Regions from separate parts of the Homo sapiens genome. Here regions 2, 3, 4, 5 and 6 are each linked to region 1. Evidence: promoter capture Hi-C in 16 types of primary human blood cells and fetal thymus (Javierre and others, 2016). All regions are on one chromosome and are shown on one strand. The core of a region is centred on a gene start or on the middle of the fragment in contact, and the rest is flanking DNA. Distances in the headings are between cores, read along the strand shown.

Region 1 (4,043 bases), core at 1,544-4,043:
GGATATTATGAATATCACAGCGATATTTCGTTAATGTCACAGTGCGTAAGCACTGTGTGTAAATACTGGATATTATGAATATCACAGTGATATTTCATTAACGTAACAGCGTGTAAGCACTGTGTAAACACTGGATATTATGAGTGTCACAGTGATATTTCATTAATTTCACACGGGATATTATAAAAATCACAACGATATTTAACATCATAGTGTGTAAACACTTTGTGTAAACATCGGGTATTATAAATATCACAGCGATGTTTCATCGGTATCACAGTTTGTAAACCTTGGATATTATAAACATCACAGCGATATTTCATTTATATCACGATGTGTAAACACTGGATACTATAAATATCACAGCGATGTTTGCTTAATATCACGGTGTGTAAACACTGTATATTACAAATATCACAGCCATATTTTATTAATATCACGGTGTGTACACACTGGATATTATAAATATCATATTGATATTTCATTGAGGTCATGGTGTGTAAACACTGGATGTTGTAAATATCTGTGATATTTCATTGATGTTATGGTGCATCAACACTTGATATTACAAATATCACAGAGACATTTCATTGATATCACAGTGTGGAAACACTGGGTATTATAAATATCACAGCGATATTATATTAATATCACGGTGTGTAAACATTGTATATTACAAATATCAGCCATATTTTATTAATATCACAGTGTGTAAACACTGGATATTATAAATATCACATCGATATTTCATTGATGTCACGGTGTGTAAACACTGGATGTTGTAAATATCACAGCGATATTTCATTAATATTTCATTTCATTAATAATTTCACAAACTGCCCCACTGACCTAGGGCCAGCCACAATATTACTTTCATGGGCCCTAGCTACTTTGTTTTTGTGCACCCCTTCTTCCATAAAATAATTTTAAAGTGAATATTTTATGACTGAATTCATAAAATGACTATCATCCAAGCTGGATTCATTATTATATATTGCTTTTATTACATACCTTTTCTTCTTCTAATTTAAAAAGAAATTACAATTAAAACATTTTCACAGGTCCCTAAAATTACTGTGTGTGTCCTGTGCCTGTAAGGGAGAAGTCAGCCCTACACTGACCCCTGGATTCTCAGCTCGCACCAGGCTCCCTCACACACACTGTTCTCCAGCCCCTTTCTGCTGTCTTTGCACAAACTTTGCCCTCTTCCTTGAACACTCTCCCTTGCCTTTTTCCTCATTTATGTCCTCTATCCCGCACAGAGCATCAGAATCCCCTTACAGCACAGATCACTGGGCCTGACACCTGGCTTCTGATTCAGCAGTTGTGACATGGGCCCCAAAGTCCACCTTTTCTTTTCTTTTCTTTTCTTTTCGTCTTTTTTCTTTTCTTTTCTTTTCTCTTTTCTTTCTTTCCTTTCTTTCTTTCTTGGTTTTTGTTGTTGTTGTTGTTGTTGTTTTGTTTTGTTTTGTTTTTGAGACAGAGTTTCGCTTTTTTTTGCCCAGGCTGGAGTGCAATGGCGCGATCTCGGCCCACTGCAAACTCCGCCTCCCAGGTTCAAGCGATTCTCCTGCCTCAGCCTCCTAGTAGCTGAGATTACAGGCGCCTGCCACTGGCTAATTTTTGTTTTTTTAGTAGAGATGGGGTTTCACCATGTTGGCCAAGCTGGTCTCAAACTCCTGACCTTAGGTGATCCACCCGACTTGGCCTCCCAAAGTGCTGGGATTACAGGTGTGAGCCACAGCGCCTGGCCCAGAGTCCACATTTTTAACAGGACCAAAGTGATCCTGATTCTGCTGGTCTGAGGACCACACTTTGAGAACTACTGCTTTCAAGATGAGCTGCACTTCTATTTCCTCTACCAAGCCTCTTCTGTCTCCTAATTGGGTCACATTTCTCCTTCACACGCTCTAGAAGGACCAAAGGCCACTGCTTTATCAGTGTGATTTTTTTTTTTTTTTTTTTTTGCATTAAAAACTTCTTATCTTCTTCTTCTTATTTTTGAGACGGTCTACCTCTGTCAGGCTGGAGTGCAGTGGTGCTATCACGGCTCACTGCAGCTTCGACCTCCTGGGCTCAAGCGATCCTCCCACCTCAGCCTCTTGAGTAGCTGGGACCACAGGTGTGTGCCACCACGCCTGGCTAATTTTTTATTTTTATTTTGTAGAGATGGGGTTTCGCCATGTTGCCCAGGCTGGGCTCGAACTCCTGGATTCAAGTGATCCTCCCCTCTTGGCCTCCCAAAGTGTTGGAATTACAAGCATATGCCACTGCATCCAGCCCTGTGTGATTAATTTATGTTTCTACCATTTGACTGTGAGCTCCACGTGTCTTTTCGCTAGCTGTGGGATCTGCACCCAGTGCATACAGGTGGTCGGTGAACAGGTGCTGACAGCAGTTCCAAAAAGTTGAATGAATCACCTTAACCTTCCAGCAACAGCGAATGCGAGTGTAAAATATTATCACCTCACCAACACTGTATTTTTTTTTTTTTTAACTCTTCCAGCTCTAAATTCCACAACTCCTCCTATACCTCTTGCTTCCATAGAAGCCCAAGGAGCCCGGCAGAAACTGCTTTGAGCAACCAGGAACACCCGGCCCTAAGTCCCGCCCCGCGCCTCTCCCCACCTCAAGTCCCGCCTCTGGCTATAAGCCCCGCCCCGCCCCGATCCCGGCCTCCGATCCCAGATCTCGCACCGCCCCGCCCCCTGTCTCCGCCCCAGACACCACCCCGCCTCGTGCTCTAAGCCCCGCCCCTCTCTCTGGCTTTAGGCCGCTCCCAAGCCCAGAGCTGCTCTGCGCAAGCGCGACCGACCGAGCAGCTCCGAGGAGTCCGCCCGGAAACAAACATTCCCCAGGGCAATGTCACGACTTGGTCTTCCCGAGGAGCCAGTCAGGTAAAGGCTTTCCGGGCCCTGGCACCCCGAGCTTGGTCAGGCCCGGCCTTGATCGTAGCGGAGGCCACCGGGGCCTTTTGGCCGGGACTGATTTTGCAGCTCCCGCCAGTCCACCTGCGAGCGCCGGATGGGGGAGCACTCGCCTCCAGCAACCCGCAGGGTCCCCGAACCTTTGCACTGCTCTGGCCAGGAACAGAGCCGGCTTAAGCCAGTATGGTTTACATACACGCTGCTCCCCTTCCCAGCCGGCTTGGCTGTTCTGCAATCCGCGTCTCCAGAGTTGGACCCCAGGACCCCCGACAGTGGCACAGACCCGCAGCAGGCAGCCCCGGATTCAAGTCCCCCGGTGGCTACTTTCAGTTGTGACCTTGGGTCTGTCAGTTTCGTAAACTCTCTGAGCCTGGAGGTGACCCTGTGATCACTTGCCGGGCTGTTGTGAGGATAAAATGAGAAACGTCAAAATTGAGACCATGCTCAGAACGGGGTGGCTGCTACTGCTGTTGATACCTTGGTGATTATTCCAGCGGCCAGCCCCTAAAGTGGACAGATAACGTTTTTGCAGCCTTTTACTTTGGCTGGTTTGTCTGGTCAGTTCTGTGGTTTCCGGGTGGTTAAAAGCCACCAGCCCACAGTTTCCTTTTCTGGAGGCTGGCCTGCGTGCATCCAGATGCACTGTGCAATCCCTGTGCCAGCATTCACTGATTTTTTTCAGGCCATTTGGTCTTTGAAATACACTGCCGTTACCCAACCACATCTGGTGAGCACCCTGCCACCTAGAAAGAGGCAAAAAATAGCAAATACCTCCTGCAAACAACTGCTTATCTAATGATGGGGAGATTTATGACAGTGGTTACCATTCCCTGAGCACCAGCTGTGTGCCAGCCACAGTATATGAACTGCATCATTTAATCTTCTTAAATATCCTCAAGCCTGACACAAATGAAGATGAAACTCAGAGAAGTCATTTGTATACACTTTTTTTTTTTTTTTTTTGAGACAGAGTCTCACTCTGCCGCCCTGGCTACAGTGCAGTAGGCAATCTCGGCTCACTGCAGCCTCTGCCTCCTGGGTTCAAGCGATTCTCCTGCCTCAACCTTCTGAGTAGCTGGGATTACAGGCATGTGCCACGATGCCCGGCTAATTTTT
Region 2 (4,043 bases), core at 668-3,167, 390 kb after region 1:
TCCTGAAGTACTGGGATTACAGACATGAGCCACCGCGCCCGGCCACAGAGCTGCTTTTTTTTGCAAGTGATATTGGATGGTGGTTGATGTACAAAGTAGGAGTTTGTCCTTGCTACTGATACCGTAGCTGGTACAAGGTTTTAATCGTTCTCCAAGCACTGTCACAGGTGTCATGTGTCTCGCCTTTTCAGCAGCTCTGTGAGGTGGCAGTAGCCCTGAGGAGACTGGCTGGACTCAGCTAGCATGGGCTGCTCAGGTCTTCAGCGTGCTGAGTGAGGCATTCCTGCACTATGACAGAGACCCAGCTGCCAAGACTTTGTCAAACAGACCAGAAGCCAGCAGTTCATGAAAAGACCTTGCTTGCAAGTTGTAGAATTTTTTAGAAAATTCGTGCTCTCTGTATTTATTTTCTGTAAAATAATTGATAGGGAAAGAATGTTCACATCTTATCATCTAGATGTTGCTGATTAAATAATATAACTTTCTGGGTTGGCATGAGTAGGTGAACTTTTAGGAAACGCAGCCTACCCTTCGAATACCTCTTGTAGCACCTGGCTGTTTCCCTTTTGAAATAATTGTATGTTTTCCTGGATACCTTATTACCTGGTGACACGTGTTTCTAGTTATTGACCTATGTTTTTAATTATAACTTTGGGTGGTGGTCTGAAATGAAATGTTAAGTTTGACGCAAAAATAGGACTAGTTTGTGTAACTGATTTGTTCAGAATAACAGCTTACATTTCTCAGAGCTTTTTGTATGCCAAGTGCTATGCGAAACCCTGGATGTACAATATTCTTATAGTAGCCCCTGAGACCAGTGCTAGGATTATTTCCATTTTGCAGATGAGGGGATGGAGATTAAGGAGTGGGGTCACTTGACCAAAGGTGCACAGCGCACAGCTAGATGCCCTATGGGAAGGTCTTACTGCATCTCTTAACTACCTCTTGGGACCAGTTAGGAACCAGTGCTTAATGAAACACTTTGAAGTTACATCTGTGGAAAGAATAAACATTTTAGCTGGGCAAGGTGGCACGGGCTTCTAGTCCCAGCCACTCAAGAGGCTGAAATAGGAGGGTTACTTGAGTCCAGGAGTTCCAGTCCAGCCTGGGCAACATAGTGAGACCCTGATTCTTTAAAAAGAAACACAAATAAATAAACATTTTAAGAGATTATATAAATTAGATATTATGAATTTTGTCCCTACATCGTGGAATAAAACCAAAACAAATACACAGCAAAATGCCTCTAGATTTATTTATTTATTTATTTATTTTTGAGACAGAGTCTTGCTCTGTCGCCAGGCTGGAGTGCAGCGGCGTGATCTCGGCTCACTGCAACTTCTGCTTCCCTGGCTCAAGCGATTCTCCTGCCTCAGCCTCCCGAGTAGCTGGGACTACAGGCACGTGCCACTGTCCCCAGCTAATTTTGTATTTTTGGTAGAGACAGGGTTTCACCATGTTGGCCAGGATGGTCTCCATCTCCTGACCTTGTGATCTGCTCCCCTAGGGCTCCCAAAGTGCTGGGATTACAGGTGTGAGCCACCGCTCCCGACGGCCTCTAGATATTTTGAGTGATTCAGCAAACCTCCTAAAGTTGACCCCGTAGCTGGGGTCACAGTCCTCTTTCTCCTTCTTCCCCCTACTTCCTTCTTATATCTGGCTATCTGGGAGAGAAAAAATTTAATACAATTGATTACTTTTTAGAAGAGTTAATTTTTACTTATTACTGTGGATTTTTTGTTTTTTAACAGTCACACCGAGGAGAAGACTCAGTGGGAACATCCAAAAACTGGAAAAAGAAAACGAGTGGCAGGAGGTTTGTATGTTGTTGTCTAAGGATCTTGGATGGAAGCATTAAGTAGATGAGGAAATGTCACTGGCAGAGAGGTGACAGGTTATTGTGTGTTTAGGGAGGGCTCTCTGGTAGAGAACCAGACTCCCACTCTGAGGAGCTTATGGGATTTGGCAGAAGAAGATGATGAGATCATAGGGTGGAGTGAGGATGATTTCTTACTGGTCTTAAAGTACCAAAATGGCCAGATGTGGTGGCTCATGCCTGTAATCCCAGCACTTCGGGAGGCCGAGGCGGATGGATCACCTGAGGTCAGGAGTTTGAGACTAGCCTGGCCAACATGTTGAAAGCGCATCTCTTCTAAAAATACAAAAATTAGCTGGGCATGGTTGCATGCGCCTGTAATTCCAGCTACTTTGGAGGCTGAGGCACGAGAAGTGCTCAAACCCAGGAGCTGGAGGTTGCAGTGAGCCAAGATCACACCACTGCGCTCCAGCCTCGGTGACAGAGTGAGATGCTGTCTGAAAAATAGCGACAACAACAACAACAAAAACCAGAAAATAATTGAGGCCTTTGATTCACAGTTTATGATGTTTTCCTATCGTTGCAGTGTTTATAAAATTGTTCTTGGCTATACTATGGAATTAAATATATAAGTATTTGGAAATTTCGTAAAGATTACCATGACTTCTAGGTGATTCTGAGATAATGTATGATCCACGGAATAGAAGTATAAGAAAGGGACAGGCACGGTGGCTTGTGCTTGTGATCCCAGCCCTTTGGGAGGCAGAGGTGGGAGGATCACTTGTGCCTGGGAATTCGAGGTGAGCCTAGGCAACATAGTGAGACCCCATCTCAAAAAAAAATATGAGAAGGTTCCTGCCCTTAAGAGGTTTAGGATCCAGCTGAAGAATCAACATGTGCACATGAAAAAAAATGGCCGTGCCCTCTAATGTCATATGAGGTCAGCGTATGAATGACGTTGGGTGCCTGCCCTGCATATACATATGTTCTTTGAGCTCATTCAAGGGAGAATTCCCATGGATTGGCACAACCAGTATGGTTTATAGAGCGATCAGGAATAAAATAGGTTTTCTTCAAAACAAGAGGCAAAAATGTGGAGCCCAGGGTGGGATCAGGGGCCTTCTGCAGCTGTCGCAGTTGGAACATGTGACGAAAGCCAGTTGATGTGACAACTGCTGGGTGGGAGGGACAGGCTTGGGGGCGGGGCTGGGAGGGCTCCTTCCCTTCCTGACCCAGGGATGGTCTTTACTTCTCCCTGGCACCTGTAGACCTGTCTTTCTTGTGTTTCAGATTTGCCATACGGATGGGAACAAGAAACTGATGAGAACGGACAAGTGTTTTTTGTTGAGTAAGTGTCTGCAAAGAAACCACTCTCAGCTGTTTTGCTTTTTAATAGGAATTTTTAATTATAAAAGTAATACATAGTAACTGTAGAAAAATACAAAGTATAACAGTGTGTATCTGTAATCTTAGCAGAAGTGACTACTTTTAACATCGCTGGAACTTTTAACATCGCTAGATTTATTCTTCTATTTTCCCCGCACACGCATCCTTAAAAAAAAAAAGTAGGGAGGCCAGGCATGGTGGCTCATGCCTGTAATCCCAGCACTTTGGGAGGTCGAAGTGGGTGGATCCTGAGGTCAAGAGATCGAGACCATTCTGGCCAACATGGTGAAACTCCGTCTCTACTAAAAATATAAAAATGAGCTGGGTGTGGTGGCACGTGCCTGTGGTCCCTGCTACTCGGGAGGGTAAGGCGGGAGAATCACTTGAACCCAGGAGGCGGAAGTTGCAGTGAGCTGAGATCGCGCCACTGCACTCCAGCCTGGGTGACAGAATGAGACTCCTTCTCAAAAAAAAAAAAAAAAAAAAAAGAGGGAATGCACTGTGTGGACTGTTTAGTAACCTGCTTTTTCCATGTAATATATTATGAGCATTTTCTTGTATCCATATCTATTTTTCAAAAAGATGCTATTTAGCAGCTCTAGAGTTATTATTTTGTACAGATATACTATAATTTATCAAATTGCCTATTGGACATTAATGCTAAATTCCTGTTATAGAGAACCTATAATTATAAATAATGTATTGAGCATCCTTATCTGTAAGACTTTTTCACCTCTCTGATTCTGTCTTTAGGATAAATTCCGGTATCACGCAGCAATAGTAACCACCTGTCCAACATATAGCATGAGCCAGGCCTGATTCTAATCATCTTGTATCTGTA
Region 3 (4,043 bases), core at 722-3,221, 360 kb after region 1:
CCAAAAAAATTTGATTTATGTATTTATTTAATAATTATTTCTTTTAGAATACATAATTCATGTACAAATACAAACTTTAAAGTGAATATGGCAGAATGCTTCCTTTTGTTACTTGCTGCGGCTACTCTGGAATGTTTTGCAATCCAGAAGCCACCACGGGTTTCTTTACATTCTCAAGAAAACATTTTTATGTAAGGGAATGGCTGTTCAGATTTGCATTTTAAGTAGTTTACTCTGATCAAGTTGCCAAGTGAGACAAGGCTTTATGGAGAAGCTGCTGGTGAGGGTGAGAAGCAAGGCTAGGAATATGAGGGGGAGAATGTTATTCTTTACTTTCTAAAGGAGTGAACCACAAAGCTGTTTGCAGATTCCACACATGCAGAGAAAACACAATTCATTTGGTTGGTAAGTTCAGATTTCTTGTGCCAAACATGGGAAGCAGTACAGCGAGGTGATTAAAAATACTGCACAGGCCAGTGAGGTGGCTTATCCCTGTAATCCTAACACTTTGGGAGGCTGAGGCAGGACAATTACTTGAGGCCAGGAGTTCAAGACCAGCCTGGCCAACAAGGTAAGACTCTGTCTCTACAAAAAATTTAAAAATTAGCCAGGTGTGGTGGTGTACTCCTGTAGTCCCAGTTACTCAGGAGACCGAGGCAGGAGGATAGCTTGAGCCCAGGAGTTTGAGGCTGCAGTGAGCTGTTTTTGTGCCAGTGTACTCCAGCTTGGGCAACAGTGTGAGATCCTGTCTCCAAAAACAAACAAACAAACAAACAAAACCCCAAAAAACAAACAAACCCCCAAAAATGCAGACTTGCAGACTTTAGAATTGAGAGAATTTGGATTGAGTCTCTGCTTTACCATTTGCTAAGTCTTTGCTATTTGCTAAACTAAGCCTCAGTTATTGCTTCTATAGAGCAAGGCTTTTAATACCCACCTCTATCTACTCCTGATGATGGTGTATCTGATAATGCTTGGAAAACGTTCCATACAGTTATGCATATACTTTAAAGTCAGATCTAACATCAGAGTGGTGCCTCATTTTTGAGTCTTAAGGTTCTGCCAGCCCAGCTTTAATCACCAACAACAATGACGATAGCTAACAGGTACTGAGTGCTTACTCTGTGCCTGGTGCTGTGCTGAGTGCTTTGTAGTCATCACTTCCTTTCCTTTTTTCCCTTCACCCACTTTCTGGTACCTTTGCATGTGCATGTCTGTCAAAATCTGGGGTGAATCTTGGGCTCCAGGCCCTGGACTCTTTGGAAGAACTTACTTGCAAGATTATAACAGCAATGGATCAGAGCGGCATCTTCAAAACTTCGGCAGCCAAAATAAGACACTCTAAACAGACAATGAAAGACTTTACAGTATTTCACGCCTGTAATCCCAGCACTTTGGGAGGCTGAGGCGGGTGGATCACTTGACGTCAGGAGTTCGAGACCAGCCTGGCCAAGATGGTGAAAGCCTGTCTCTACTAAAAAAAAAAAAAAAAATTAGCCAGGCATGGTGGCAGGTGTCTGTAATCCTATCTACTCGGGAAGGGGAGGCTGAGGCAGGAGAATCACTTGAACCTGAGAGGCGGAGGTTGCAGTGAGCTGAGATTGCTCCACTGCACTCCAGCCTGGGTGACAGAGCAAGACTCCGTCTCAATTAAAAAAAAAAGACTTTAGACAGAATGGACTTGTTGCTGCAATTTTTGAGTGCTTGGGTCCAACATACCTGCCCCCACGGGAGGGTGATTTTTTTCCCTGCAGACAGGAATGAAGTTGGACTGAAATGCCATTTTACCAATGCCAGCAAGTTAGCCATTATATGCTACGGCTACTTTGAAGCTTGGGGCTTCAGTGAAGTTTCCAGTGAAGTTTCCAAACTTAGAGGCCTAATTTCCAGAAGTCACAGCAATGAATGCACTCACCAAGGGAGAGGGCCTAAGTGTGGCCCAGGAGAAAATGTGCTTTATTACTTAGTCCTGGGGACTTTCATGATAAAACAAAATCAGGCTCTCCCTGTTATGCTTCAGGGAACCCATTTCACAGCCTATCATAGGTGCTAGGTTTACAAGCTACCTAGTTTAATGAATCCCAATCTTTCAGATTTCACGCAATAGAGAAAAGCTTTGGTTTGTTGTTTTTATCGTTATTTGTGCATTGTTTTTAATGAGTTTTATAGCGAGATTATCAACTTTATCAATGTGTCAAGAAAGACCATTTAAAAAAAAAAAACAAAAACACTGGCCTGTCATGGTGGCTCACACCTGTAATCCCAGCACTTTGGGACACCCAGGCAGGAGGATCACTTGAGCTCAGGAGTTCAAGACCAGCCTGGACAACATAGCAAGACCGTGTCTCTATGAAAAATTTAAAAATTAGCCAGATGTGGTGGTGTACTCCTGTAGTTCCAGCTACTCAGACGGCTGAGGTAGGAGGATCGCTTGAGCCCTGGAGGTTGAGGCTGCAGTAAGCCACAGTCATACCAGTGCCCTCCAGCCTGGGTATTATTATTATCCAAAATAATAATAAAAGTAATAAAATAAAAGTGAGAAAACAAATCAATACCCTGCCATCACTATCACCTTCCATAAAAGGTAAAACATTTTAACACCAAAACAGTAGAAAATACTACACATTACCTGAGAACAATTTTTGCCAAGAATCTAATAAAGCTTCTGGTCTTACCTCCAGGTTACAGAAGACATAGAGACAGAGGAGCAATTTAAATAGGGCCATGAGGAAATAATCAGAAGAATCTTTGGCGCACATTCTGTAAGACGGCATGACCTGGAACCTTTAGATGTCATTGTCACAGGGAAAAAGATTTGGGGGGGGGGCAAATCTCTAGAATAAATGAGACCAAAGAGACAAGCGACCAAGTGCAATGCATGGACCTTGAATGAGTTGGTGCTCAGAGGGGGACAAAGCTATAAAAGACATTTTACAAAAAGTGAAGTGTAGAGTTACCATATGACCCAGCAACTCTACTCCTAGCTATGAGAAATGAAAACACATGTCAGCTGAGAGTGGTGGCTCCTCCCTGTCATCTTAGCAGTTTGAGAGGCTGAGGCAGGAGGATTTCTTGAACTCATGAGTTTGAGATCAGCCTGGGCAACATAGGGAGACCTTGTCTCTACCAAAAAAGAATAGAAAAGAAAACACATGCCTACACAAAAATGTGCATAGCTGCATTACTCATAATAACCAAAAAAGTGAAATCAACCTAAAAGTTCATCAAGTGATGAATGAATAAATAAAATGTGGCACATCCATATAACGGAATATTATTCTGTCATAAAAAGGACAAAGTATTGATCCCTGCTACAGTATGAATGAACCTCAAAAACGTTGTGCTAAGTGAAAGAAACCAGGCACAAAAGACTACTTGTTATTTGATTCAATTTATAGGAAATGCCCAGAGCAGGTAGATTCATACAGATAGGAAGTCAATTAATGGTTGCCAGGGATTAGGGGCTATGGAGAATGAAGAGAGAGTACTAATAGGTTTCTTTTTGGGGTGATGAAAATATTCTAAAATTAGATAGTGGTGATGATTACAGAACTCTATAGATATACTAAATACCACTGAATTGTACACTTTGAGGGGGTGGTGAATTTTATGGTATGTGAATTGTATCTCAATTTTAAAAACCCAAAATAATAGTTTAGGTACAATTAATTGACATAATGGAGATATCAGTCATTTTCTTAGGTATGAAAATGGCATTGGGGATATGGAGAATAATAACCTCACTCTTAGGAGAGACCTGCTGATGTATTCATAGGTCAATTGTCATGACGCTGGCAATGCATTTTCATCTAGCTGAGCTCACACAACAGAATGGGCTCTTTACAGCAAATATGGGCTGAGTAAGCTGACTTACACCTCTTAATCCAGCACTTTGGGAGGCCGAGGTGGGAGGATTGCTTGAGGCCAGGAATATGAGACAAGCCTGAGCAACATAACAAGACCCCCAACTCTACTATATACATAATAAAGCAAATATGGGGGCAGGAGTATTTGCGCATTCGTTGTACTCTTCTCTCAACTTT
Region 4 (4,043 bases), core at 779-3,278, 310 kb after region 1:
AAGAATCTTCCTGTCCAAGTTATTTTCTTTTTCTTTTTTTCCTTCCTTCTTTCCTTCATTCATTGTTTTTTTGTTTGTTTGGTTTTTTTTCAGACAGAGTTTCACTCCCTCACCAAGGCTGGAGTGCAGTGGAATGATCTTTGCTCACTGCAACCTCTGCCTCCCAAGTTGAAGCAGTTCTCATGCCTCAGCTTCCCAAATAGCTGGAATTACAGGCATTCAACACCATGCCCAGCTAATTTTTATACTTTTAGTAGAGACAGGGTTTTGCTATGTTGGCCAGGCTGGTCTCGAACTCCTGGCCTCAAGTGGTCCACCCGCCTTGGCCTCCCCAAGTGCTGGGATTACAGGCGTGAGCCACTTCGCCAGCCCCAAGTTATTTTCACGCATTATTTTTTGTATACACTGGGCTCAGGTTCACCAAAACCACTATTGCCTTGGGTCCTACATTCCAAAGCTTGATTTTATTTTAATCATACGCTTTTCATCCACCTACCCCATCCCACCCTAAAATTTTCCCCAGACAAGGATGGAGATCTGAAGACTCAAATTGAAAAGCTCTGGACAGAAGTCAATGCCTTGAAGGAAATTCAAGCCCTGCAGACAGGTAAGGTGCAGACCTTCTCAGTGCCTTGTCCCAAAGGAGACAGGAAAATTTCTGGGTCAATTTCTGGGGGACGTCTTTTTAAAAGAAACATTGACAAATCAATAATGTGGCCAATAAGAGGGCCCCAATGCCGGGAGATGATTGTTTTAGGAAATCAGCTTCATTTACAATCCCATTCTCCTATATATGGGTGGTATAGAAATAAAAATAAGTAGTTCAGGAATAAATTTGAAAAGTCAGTCCATACTTATTCTCTAAAGAGTAGTGAAACAGAATGAAGCCAGTATGAAATGACTAAAATGATTAGCATTTATTGGATGATAGCTAAGTGCCTATCAGGCCACCAGGACTCTCTCGGGCCACACCCAGCCTAAGATGCTGGAAGGACATGGGTTAGAACCGCAGCTTGCCAACAGGGCAGCGCCAGCGTTCCTCCCCACAGTTATGCAGCCACATGCGCTACTGCCCAGGAGCTATTCTCCAAGGGGTGAGGAAGTGAGCCATGTGGGCAGGTTTGGGAACAGCCCTGGTTTACAAGGCTCATCCCCCAAGGAGCTAATATCCTTTGTAGCAATTTCAAAAGCAAGGTGTTGAGGTTCCTCACAAGAGACCTGCCTCATTACAAGTTACTGCCTTCAGGGAAGACTGAAGTTACGGCTTTCCATCAAGTATTTATAACTCCCAGACCAGATGCATGTTACCAACCTGGGGTCATTTTTACCACAAGCAATGTTGCCTAGTAACAAGGGTGACATACTCCCTTTATCAGGCTTCCGGGGGAACAGAATTAGAAAGTTAAAAGACAGTCAAATGCTTATGCAGAAGGTGAGTTTGGTTCATCCTTTACCCACAGTCAGGTACTAGAAATTCTTTATAAACACAAATCCATTAATCCTCCAGCAACTTAAGCTATTATGATCCTAATTTTACAGATGAGGAAAATGAGGCACAAAGAAGGTAAGTAATTTGTTCAAGAGATACACAGCTAGTTAAATGTCAGAGATGAGACCTAAACCCAGGCACTATGGGCTCTGAGGCCTGACTCTCCAGTGCTACGGCCTAAAACTATCTTTATGCTCAGTTTATCCTGAATAATCTAAACAATATTACCAAGGCTCAGTTATCTGCTTAAGAAAATCCCTGTCTCTCCACATGCAAAACTAGAATTTAATTGATTGATTGATTGATTGATTTTTGAGACAGAGTCTTGCACTGTTGCCCGGGCTGGAGTACAATGGCGCAATCTCGGCTCACTGCAACCTCTGCCTCCCAGGTTCGCACGATTCTCCTGCTTCAGCCTCCTGAGTAGCTGGGATTATAGGCACACACCACCACATCCAGCTAATTTTTTGTATTTTTAGTACAGACGGGGTTTCACTATGTTGGCCAGACTGGTCTTGAACTCTTGACCTTGTGATCCACCCGCTTCTGCCTCCCTAAGTGCTGGGATTATAAGTGTGAGCCACCACGCCAAGCATTTTTTTTTTAAACAAATATTTTTAAAAATAAATATTAAATACCATCTAGTTCCAAAACTCCCAAAGAAATCCAACACAGAGTAGCAAGCATGTATATATCAGAACAGCATGAAGTTTAAGGCCATGTCTTGGGATAGGGCAGACCTGCATTTGGGTAGCTGTGATCTCACATGCTGCAAAAATTACTTCATTTAAAAAAATGTGGCTAGGCGCAGTGGCTCACGCCTGTAATCCAAGCACTTTGGGAGGCCGAGGCAGGCGGATCATGAGGTCAGGAGATCGAGACCATCCTGGCTAACACGGTGAAATCCCGTCTCTACTAAAAATACAAAAAATTAGCCGAGTGTGGTGGCAGGCACCTGTAGTCCCAGCTACTCGGGAGCCTGAGACGGGAGAATGGCGTGAATCCGGGAGGCGGAGCTTGCAGTGAGCCGAGATGGCGCCACTGCACTCCAGCCTGGGCGACAGAGCGAGACTCCAACTCAAAAAAAAAAAAAAAAAAATGCTAAGGTGTTACAAGTAACAACTTCTCTAAGCCTAAATATCCTGATATGTAAAAATAGGGGTAATAAAATACAACTTCATGGGGTTGTCAGGATTATGTAACTTAATTTATGTAAAATGCTTAGCATGTTGTCCGGCACATAGAAAATTTTAACTGTTGTCTCATCATTATCATACTTCATTCCACAAATACTTATTGCTATTTGCCAGGTCCAGCCCTAGTCATAATACACTCAAAATGCATCTTAATATGTTACACTTCACATCTTCACAGTCTGTCTCCGAGGCACTAAAGTTCACAAGAAATGCTACCTTGCTTCAGAAGGTTTGAAGCATTTCCATGAGGCCAATGAAGACTGCATTTCCAAAGGAGGAATCCTGGTTATCCCCAGGAACTCCGACGAAATCAACGCCCTCCAAGACTATGGTAAAAGGAGCCTGCCAGGTGTCAATGACTTTTGGCTGGGCATCAATGACATGGTCACGGAAGGCAAGTTTGTTGACGTCAACGGAATCGCTATCTCCTTCCTCAACTGGGACCGTGCACAGCCTAACGGTGGCAAGCGAGAAAACTGTGTCCTGTTCTCCCAATCAGCTCAGGGCAAGTGGAGTGATGAGGCCTGTCGCAGCAGCAAGAGATACATATGCGAGTTCACCATCCCTCAATAGGTCTTTCTCCAATGTGTCCTCCAAGCAAGATTCATCATAACTTATAGGTTCATGATCTCTAAGATCAAGTAAAAATCATAATTTTTACTTATTAAAAAATTGCAACACAAGATCAATGTCCATAGCAATATGATAGCATCAGCCAATTTTGCTAACACATTTCTTTGGGATTTTGCCCTTCCTGGGGTATAGGGGATCAGAAATATTGATCCATGTGCACGCAGATAAAATGGCTTCTGCTAAACAGACTAAAATCTTTCTCTCTAGTCTTTCTCACTTGTACAAACCCAGTTTGTTTTCAAAAAATCACAGTAGCAATGCAACTCATCACTCTAGAAAAGCAAGCTTAGGCTACCTGAAAGATTTTCCCTTGGAAGTTTAGCGTATGTTTGACTAACAAAAATTCCCTACATCAGAGACTCTAGGTGCTATATAATCCAAAAACTTTTCAGCCTGTTGCTCATTCTGTCCCATGCTGGCAATAATACCTTGTCAGCCCATTACCCTTATTTTGAATTGCTCCATCTCCTGGTGGGACTTGTATCTTGTCTGCCATATCAGAACACAAACCCCTGAAGAGGTTCTGATTTGATTTTTTTTTTTTCTTCATGCCTACCCTTTTTTTGGAAGTTTCCAGCCGCAATTTGAAATGAAATGACAAGGTGTATATTTGATCAATTTTCATTCCCACCATTGCATTACAACCTCTAACTTAAATGGGTAACCCTAAGGCATATCAAAGAAGCAGATTGCATGATAAACGGAAACAGAAAAAAAGAACCTAC
Region 5 (4,043 bases), core at 1,043-3,542, 290 kb after region 1:
ATCTAAAAGCTGCCCCTGCTGATTCTCTTGTTAACAGAAAACTTGGTATTTTTGTTTGTTTGTTTGTTTGTTTGTTTGAGATGGAGTTTCACTCTTGTAGCCCAGGCTGGAGTATAGCAGTGTGATCCTGGCTCACTGCCACCTCCACTTCCGGGGTTCAAGCAGTTCTCTTGCCTCAGCCTCCCCAGTAGCTGGGATTACAGGCGCCCGCCCCCATGCCTGGCTAATTTTTTGTGTGTTTTCAGTAGAGACGGTGTTTTCTCATGTTGGCCAGGCTGGTCTTGAACTCCTGACCTCAGGTGATCTGCCTGCCTCGGCTTCCCAAAGTGCTGGGATTACAGGCATGAGCCATGGGTGCCGGGCCCAGAACATCTGTTTTGTTCAAGTATCTGGTACTTTTTTGCGCTCAGAAAATGTTCTCCTGGCCCCAGTCTAGGAATGACCCTGTGGCCCAATTTTGACCAATGAAACATTAAGGGGAAATCCGCTAGGGGGCATCTGAGAGCAAGTTCCCTCTCTAATAAGAGGGAGGTATGTGAGCACCATCTTTCCTTCCCATTAATACCCCCTGCTCCCTCCTTTCAAAGTGATGCTGTGAAGACGTGACACTTGGAGGTGCTGCAGCCATCTTGTGACTGAGGGGGAAGCAATAGAAATTGCAAAGATACTAATTCAGTACCCAAATGTAAAGCCACTGGGCCCACACTAGAATGAACTACCCTCTCTCTCTAAATATCTTCTTATATGAGAAAAATATACCCCCATTTGTTCAACATGGTGTTAACTGGATTTCTTTTCTTTTTTTCTTTTTCTTTTTTTTTTTTTTTTGAGATGGAGTCTCTCTCTGTTGCCCAGGCTGGAGTGCAGTGGTGCAATCTTGACTCACTGCAACGTCCACCTCCTGGGTTTAAGCAATTCTTGTGCCTCAGCCTCCTGAGTGGCTTGGATTACAGGTACCCGCCATCATGCTCGGCCAATTTTTGTGTTTTTAGTAGAGACAGGGTTTTACCATGTTGGTTAGGCTGGTCTCAAACTCCTGACCTCAAGCGATCCACCCACCTCAGCTTGTCAAAGTGCTGGGATTACAGGCATGAGCCACCGCCCCGGCCTGATTTTCTTTACAGCAGTACATACAACTAACCGATTCAGATTTGTAGCATGACTGTCAGGATTTTAGAAATGAGTTTTGTATCTATTGTTAGATAACAAACAAGCCTAAAACTCAGAGCCAAAAATACAATCATTTGTTCACAATTTTGGGATCTAATGCTGTGTAACAATTACCCCTAGGCCAAGTGCAGCGTCTCATACCTGTAATCCCAGTGCTTTAGGAGGCTGAGGGGGAAGGATTGCTTGAGGCCAGGAGATCGAGAGCAGCCCGGGTAACATAGGGAGACCACGTTTCTAACAAAAAACTTAAAAAAAAAAAATTAGCCAGGCGTGATGGTGGACACTTGTAGTCCTAGCTACTCTGGAGGCTGCAGGAGGAGGATCGTGTGAGCCCAGCAGCTAAAGGTTGCAGTGAGCTATGATCGCACCACTACACTTCAGCCTGGAAAACAGAATGAGACCGTGTCTCTAAAAAAAAAAAAATTATTCCAAACTTTGGCAACTCAAAATAATGATCAACATCTAGTGTCTTCTAAGGGTCAGGAGTTTGGGAGTGGTTTAGCTGGGTGGTTCTGGCTGAATGTCCGCTGGCTTCCCCCAGGGCAAGCAATCCAAGAGAGACAAGTGGAAGTTGCAATACTTTTTATGACGTTATCTTGGAGGTCACATACTCCCATTTGCACAATATCCTATCCATTACACAGGTCATCCCTGTTCAGTGTAAGAGGAGACTATGTAAGTATGAATGAATATCAAGAAGTAAGGAGCAGTCATTGGGAACCATCTGGAAGTGGGTCACCACCACCTACCCTCTAATGCTGTGTCACACAGGACTCAGGGAAACAAAGCGCATCAGGAGATACACATGTGTGTATACACACACACACACACACACACACTTTATTTTTTAAACTCCATTTTGTTTTTTGAGACAGAGTCCCACTCTGTTGCCCAGACTGGAGTACAGTGGCATGATCTCGGTCAGCTCCCTGCAACCTCCACCTCCCCAGTTCAAGTGATTCTCATGCCTCAGCCTCCAGAGTAGCTGGGATTACAGGTGCACACCACCACACCTACTTTTTTTATGTTTTTAGTAGAGACAGGGTTTCGCCATGTTTCCCAGGCTGGTCTCCAACTCCTTGGCTCAGGCAATCCGCCCGCCTTGACCTCCGAAAGTGCTGGAATTGCAGGTGTGTGCCGAGCACACACACACACACACACACACACTTTAAAGGGTTTATTACAGGGATTTGACCCTGTGTAATTGTGCATACCGGTTAAACAGTCTATAAACTGCTACCTATGAAGCTCTAATGCTGGCACTTGGGGTCCACAGGGCCAGCCATGGAGATGGGCACCTCTCACTGCATCCTGCTTTGGTATCTTGCAAGGAAAGCTGGTGGCTCACCTTAACTGGACACACACAGGGAAGTCTGGGACACAGCTGAGCATCGCCAAGTGACACTTTCCAAAGCCACTGAAGATGTTTACCCTTCGTAGAGTCGTGGCTGGGACAGGCACAAAGACAAGTCGGGAGAGCTGCCAGTCTCCAGCTTGCTTTATAGCCAGGTCTAGAGGCGCATTCCTATTTATGTTATGAAAAATCAGAAAGTGATATGCTTCCAATTTGGAAACGTTTCTGTTTATATTTCAATAAAACGTCTATTTAAAACATTGATATGTTTTATGCAGAAGACTTAGAAAAACAAAGAGAAGGCCAGGCGCAGTGGCTCACGCCTGTAATCCCAGCACTTTGGGAGGCCGAGGCGGGTGGATCACGAGGTCAGGAGATTGAGACCATCCTGGCTAACACGGTGAAACGCCGTCTCTACTAAAAAATTACAAAAAAAAAAATTAGCCGGGCGTGGTGGCGGGCGCCTGTAGTCCCAGCTAATCAGGAGGCTGAGGCAGGAGAATGGCCTGAACCCGGGAGGCGGAGCTTGCAGTGAGCCCAGATCGCGCCACTGTACTCCAGCCTGGGCGACAGAGCGAGACTCCGTCTCAAAAAAAAAAAAAAAAAAAAAAAAAACTACCATCTCATCCTCTCAAAGGAACCACTATTATTTTGACCTATCCCTACCATACAGATACTCATCTGCACACATCCCTCACCCATGGCTCTCTACCGCCTGCATTTTTTTTCTTGAGACGGAGTCTTGCTCTGTGGCCCAGGCTGGAGTGCAATCACGCTATCTCAGCTCACTGCAACCTCTGCCCTCCCAGGTTCAAGCAATTCGCCTGTCTCAGTCTCCAGAGTAGCTGGGACTAACAGGTACACGCCACCATACCCACCTAATTATTTTGTGTTTTTTACTAGAGACGGAGTTTCACCATATTGGTCAGGCTGGTCTCGAAGAATTCCTGCCCTCAGCTGATCCACCCACCTTGGCCTCCCAAAGGGCTGTGATTACAGGCGTGAGCCACCACGCCGAGCCCCTGCATTCTTTTGTATGAACTGCTTTTCCCCTTTGGAAATATTCCATGGGTATTTTCTGTGTTAATCAACGTTCTTTTATAGCAGAATTTTAATGATGGCTTAAAAGTCCAATATATTAATCCCCTTTTAGTAATATCCTTTTAATTTTTGATTAGAAATAATTCTTTTTCTGAGCTGGGCACGGTGGCTCACGCCTGTAATCCCAGCACTTTGGGAGACCGAGGCAGGTGGATCACGAGGTCAGGAGTTCAACACCAGCCTGACCAAGATGGTGAAACCCCGTCTCTACTAAAAAAACATGAAAATTAGCTGGGCGTGGTGGCTGGCACCTGTAATCCCAGCTACTTGGGAGGCTGAGAAAGAGAATCGCTTGAACCCAGGAGGGAGAGTTTGCAGTGAGCTGAGATCATGCCACTGCACTCTAGCCTGGGCAACAAGAGCGAGACTCCATCTCAAAAAAAAGAAATAATTCTTTTTCTGGTTCCTGCTAAACTAC
Region 6 (4,043 bases), core at 1,027-3,526, 270 kb after region 1:
GAAACATCAACACAGCACAGGAGTGCACACTCACAAACAACTGTGCAAGAGCATAAGCCTTAGAATCTTTCAAACCAGGGGTCAAACTTGGGGAATTTGCTTGGGGTCTGACCTTTCTCCTATTAAAATGGAGAAGATCATATTGTATATATTCTAGATCAAATGTAACAGTGTAGGTGTAACCCGGCTGAAATCATGACCCACAATTCCAGTCCAAAAGCCAGGTAACAAATGCCTCCAAAACCAGGTTTCTCCACTCATTAAAACACTGATCAAATGCCTAGTATGTTCCCGACATATTATTTTTAGTGTCTTAGCTGCAAAAATAAGTGCATAGCCCCTGCCATTCAGGAACTCAGTTTAATTATGTGGTAATAAATAAGGTACTTATTGTGCAAATGGCAATTTGTTTGTAGAGCCTGCCTTGGTACTGGGCATTTATGTGGGCCGAGTGGCAAAGAGGCTGTAATTGATGAGAAATATCTATCAGGAACAGGCAAAGAGAGACATCTAGGAGAAGTAACTATCATTAGGTCCATCAGTGAGGAAGCCCAGGGTAGGTTCATGGAATGGTCCACTTAACCACTGCATGCATCAAGAGGAAAGATAGAAAATCAATAGGACTGGATTATGGAAATCCATGGATTTCACTTCAAAGGTTCTGGATTTTGTACTAAAAGCAGAATAATTCACTGAGGGATGAATCAAGAGATTGCTAGAGAGTGTCTCAAGTAAGAGAAGACCATGGGAAGTCTTCCCAGAATGAGCTTTACTATTTCACTTGGTTCAGTTGTGGGAGGTGGAACAGATGAAAGTGCCATATTGGAATAACAGTTCTTTGGCCAGTCTCCCAGCATCCACCCATTGTCTATTTAGTCATGAGATAAGGTGCCCATGGAATTGGCATGGATGGGAACAAAAGAACTCCTCTCCATTTCAGGAGTTGTGAGACAAGGAGGGGCTGTGGTTCTGTCTTTCTGGAGATATGGGGCATCGTCTCCATGGAAGTAGAAGCTCCCAGAAAGTAAATCACCATTCATGGGAGTTAAAACTAGTGCAAATGACCCATGCAGCATATTCACAAACACTGACACTCAAAAGATTGGAATCGTTTTCAAAAACGTGCCCGAGCTCAGAGTTGACAGATGCCCATAGAATGGAATTGAATCAAGACCAACCATGGAAATGAAACTAGCATTTGCCGAGGACTTGCTACTTGCCAGGCATTTGACACATACCCTCACTGAATCGCGGCAGTGCCTAGAAAATCAGGCATTATCCTCACTTACAGATAAGGATCCTGGATTTCAGAGAGGTTAGGTGGCCTGCCTATGTACACTCAGTCGGAAAGCAGAAGAGTCCGGTCTAGAACCCAGGGCTCCATGTGACAGAAAGACTCCTCTCAATGGCTGGGACAAGATGGAGGCCAGGCATTCCAACGACCACCTGGCAAAGAAAAAGAACTTTCTCTTCACTAGCTTTAGTGTGAACCAAGGTGCTCTCAGGAAGGCTCCGATTAGCCCATCTTTGGTCACATGCTAGTCTGTAAAACAGTCACTGAAGCAGAGGGATGGCTATTGATTGGCCAGCCCGGGTCACATACCCACACCTGTAGGTTCCAGCAACCTGATTGATAAGCCAATCAGGACCATGTCAAGCTGCAGAAGGATCCTTATAGGAAGTGATGCTGGATGGTTAAACCTATGTCCACTACAGCTACAGTATATGGAATACTCATTGTGTACCAGACACTGTTTGAAGCCCCTGTAGAAATCACCACTGACACCCACCACATATTGTCTTGGTGCACCAGAGTTCACCTGCAGCTATAGACAGTTCCTGGCATGGGGACAGCTTTCCACATCAAGCACCTGCACTGGTCTTTCTACTGTGCCTGCAGGCTTCCTCCAACATCACAGGAGACGAATGCATGGGGGTAACCCAGAGTTACTGTGGTGGGGGGCAGGTCGTAGCTTCAACCAGTGGAAGATGGCAGCCAGTGGATAAATGCCAAGATTTCCCACCTTCTAGTCGCATGATTTGAAGGTGTGTTCCACACAGTAGCTCAAAGGGCCCCTTGGCAGGATGAAATGCAAATTTCCCACAATGGCAACTCAGTCAACAGCATGCCCCTTACTGGCTTTTCTTCCTTCCTTGTCTCATTCTCCCACTCCTGCTCCTGCTTTCTGAGATCACATTCCCAATAAACCATTTCCACCCAAGTCCTTGTCTTGAGGGATACTATTGTGGAACCCAAGTAAAAGCATTTTACATGTCTTAACTTGCCAACTACACCCAGAAAAAACCCTATAAAGTAAGTGATGCTATTTCCATTTAACTGATGACAAAATGAAGCACAGAAAAGTAAAATAAAGTGCCCAAAACTACACAGCTAGCAACTGAGTTTCCAGAATTAGGGCTTAGAAACCAAGCCAAGTTCTCTCTAATGTCCAAGTCACTGAAAACATGCATTACTGCTTAAGCTGGAAAAAATTATTCAACAGCTAAGCTAGTGTCATAATTAAATTGACTTCTGGGACCAGCCCTTCACAGTATTTCAAAAGCCTGAGGGAGTGAGAAGGGATTATTGCTGTTTTCCTGATCCTGGAGAACTCTATCCAAGGCCAACAGGAGAGGACCCAGCAGCAGTGATGAATTAATGGGCTATGCTGGGAAAAAGGGAATCAGACCAGCCCCAAGAATCACAATACATTTGTTCTCTTCATCCTTTGCTAAAACAAACAAAATATCAATTTACTGAGCCCAGGCTGCTGCTCAGGCTGACCGCGGATGTTAAGAGCTGTTCTGCTTGTCTTTGTTTGGAGGCAGAAGTTTAATTATCCCAATGGTCCTTTGAGATTAATCAACTAGCAATGAAGGAAGTCAGTCTATCATTAAATTGCACTTAGATAATTTAATTATTAACTAGATAAATTCAGAGTGTATTTTTAAAACTCCCATTCTTACTCAGGACCTCTCGTTCTCTCTCTCACTCTCCCTCCTAATGTTAATATTATGAAAGAGACTTGATTCAGTTCTACAAATATTACTAAGCCTTGGCTATGTGTATGGCCCTGTTTTGCATGTTGTGAAGAAGTTAAACACAGCCTGGCCACTGCTGGCAAAAAGCCCATGGTTGGGCCGGGTGCAGTGGCTCACTCCTGTAATCCCAGCACTTTGGGAGGCCGAGGCGGGTGGATCACGAGGTCAGGAGATCGAGACCATCCTGGCTAACGCGGTGAAACCCCATCTCTACTAAAAATACAAAAAATTAGCCAGGCGTGGTGGTCGGCGCCTGTAGTCCCAGTTACTCAGGAGGCTGAGGCAGGAGAATGGAGTGAACCCAGGAGGTGGAGGTTGCAGTGAGCTAAGATTGTGCCACTGTACTCCAGCCTGGGCAACAGAGCAAGACTCTGTCTCCCCACCTCCAAAAAAAGTCCATGGTTGAGAAGATGGTGTGAGACAGGGACATCAATCACCAGGAAAAAGCTAGAAGCATAAAGAGAAGAGATGCATGGGGCTTGGGGGCGCAACAGTGGAAGAGGTGGTGTTTGGATAGAGGATAAAGAAGCTCTATGGAATGGAGGTGGGATGGACACTCTTGGTTTTGCCTGCCAAATTTGGCTCATAGTTCTGTGGTCAAAACTAGAGACTCTGAAGACAGATGGCCTGGGTTTGAATCCTGACCAGCTGTATAGTTACTAGCTGGATGACCTTGACCAAGTTATTTGATCTCTGGACCTTTGCTGGCTCCTCTGTAGCAGGGTATGATGATGCTGAAGTGTTATCAGGTTATGGTGTATATTAAATGAGTCAGTAGGTGTAAGATGCTTATGTGAGTGCCTGGTACATAAGCAACTGTAATTGTGATGTGTTTTGTCCATTGCCCCTGATTTTCCTCTGGGGAAAGACCCACCCTTTATATATTGTGTTGGGGTTTCTGTAAATCAACGTGCCTAGCCCTTGCTTACTCAAGTGAGGCTCATGACCCAGGGAAGGTCAAATGAATGTTCTAGTAATTTGAAGTTTAAGAAGAGAGATGC

The links. The method cuts DNA at HindIII sites, captures the fragments that hold promoters and counts their contacts. A CHiCAGO score of 5 or more calls a contact.
Region 2: a fragment that was not itself captured here is called in contact with the fragment with the promoter of NUDT7 in region 1 in 1 of 17 cell types (naive CD8 T cells); the score reaches 5.3 in naive CD8 T cells.
Region 3: a contact is called between a fragment that was not itself captured here and the fragment with the promoter of NUDT7 in region 1, in 2 of 17 cell types (non-activated CD4 T cells and total CD8 T cells). The highest score is 6.7, in non-activated CD4 T cells.
Region 4: a contact is called between a fragment that was not itself captured here and the fragment with the promoter of NUDT7 in region 1, in 2 of 17 cell types (naive CD4 T cells and non-activated CD4 T cells). The highest score is 5.4, in naive CD4 T cells.
Region 5: a contact is called between a fragment that was not itself captured here and the fragment with the promoter of NUDT7 in region 1, in 1 of 17 cell types (monocytes). The highest score is 6.8, in monocytes.
Region 6: a contact is called between a fragment that was not itself captured here and the fragment with the promoter of NUDT7 in region 1, in 2 of 17 cell types (monocytes and M0 macrophages). The highest score is 6.3, in monocytes.

Annotation. Positions count from the first base shown.
Region 1 is chr16:77,719,721-77,723,763 of GRCh38, forward strand. NUDT7 (nudix hydrolase 7) reads left to right here and starts at 2,794. Exons shown (of 4, transcript NM_001105663.3): 1 at 2,794-2,897. The coding sequence starts at 2,863. RefSeq lists an enhancer at 2,632-2,926 and a silencer at 2,640-2,769. The HindIII fragment of the contact is 15,416 bases long and covers 1-4,043 here.
Region 2 is chr16:78,106,672-78,110,714 of GRCh38, forward strand. It overlaps WWOX (WW domain containing oxidoreductase), which reads left to right. Exons shown (of 9, transcript NM_016373.4): 2 at 1,752-1,816; 3 at 3,107-3,164. Among named protein-coding and RNA genes, the nearest start is that of WWOX, 9.0 kb to the left of the region's middle. The HindIII fragment of the contact is 4,709 bases long and covers 1-4,043 here.
Region 3 is chr16:78,083,155-78,087,197 of GRCh38, forward strand. No RefSeq gene overlaps it. Among named protein-coding and RNA genes, the nearest start is that of WWOX, 14 kb to the right of the region's middle. The HindIII fragment of the contact is 282 bases long and covers 1,831-2,112 here.
Region 4 is chr16:78,027,584-78,031,626 of GRCh38, forward strand. It overlaps CLEC3A (C-type lectin domain family 3 member A), which reads left to right. Exons shown (of 3, transcript NM_005752.6): 2 at 524-607; 3 at 2,864-4,043. The coding sequence ends at 3,258. Among named protein-coding and RNA genes, the nearest start is that of CLEC3A, 7.1 kb to the left of the region's middle. The HindIII fragment of the contact is 3,146 bases long and covers 456-3,601 here.
Region 5 is chr16:78,005,583-78,009,625 of GRCh38, forward strand. No RefSeq gene overlaps it. Among named protein-coding and RNA genes, the nearest start is that of CLEC3A, 15 kb to the right of the region's middle. The HindIII fragment of the contact is 7,536 bases long and covers 1-4,043 here.
Region 6 is chr16:77,985,397-77,989,439 of GRCh38, forward strand. No RefSeq gene overlaps it. Among named protein-coding and RNA genes, the nearest start is that of CLEC3A, 35 kb to the right of the region's middle. RefSeq lists an enhancer at 826-995. The HindIII fragment of the contact is 7,937 bases long and covers 1-4,043 here.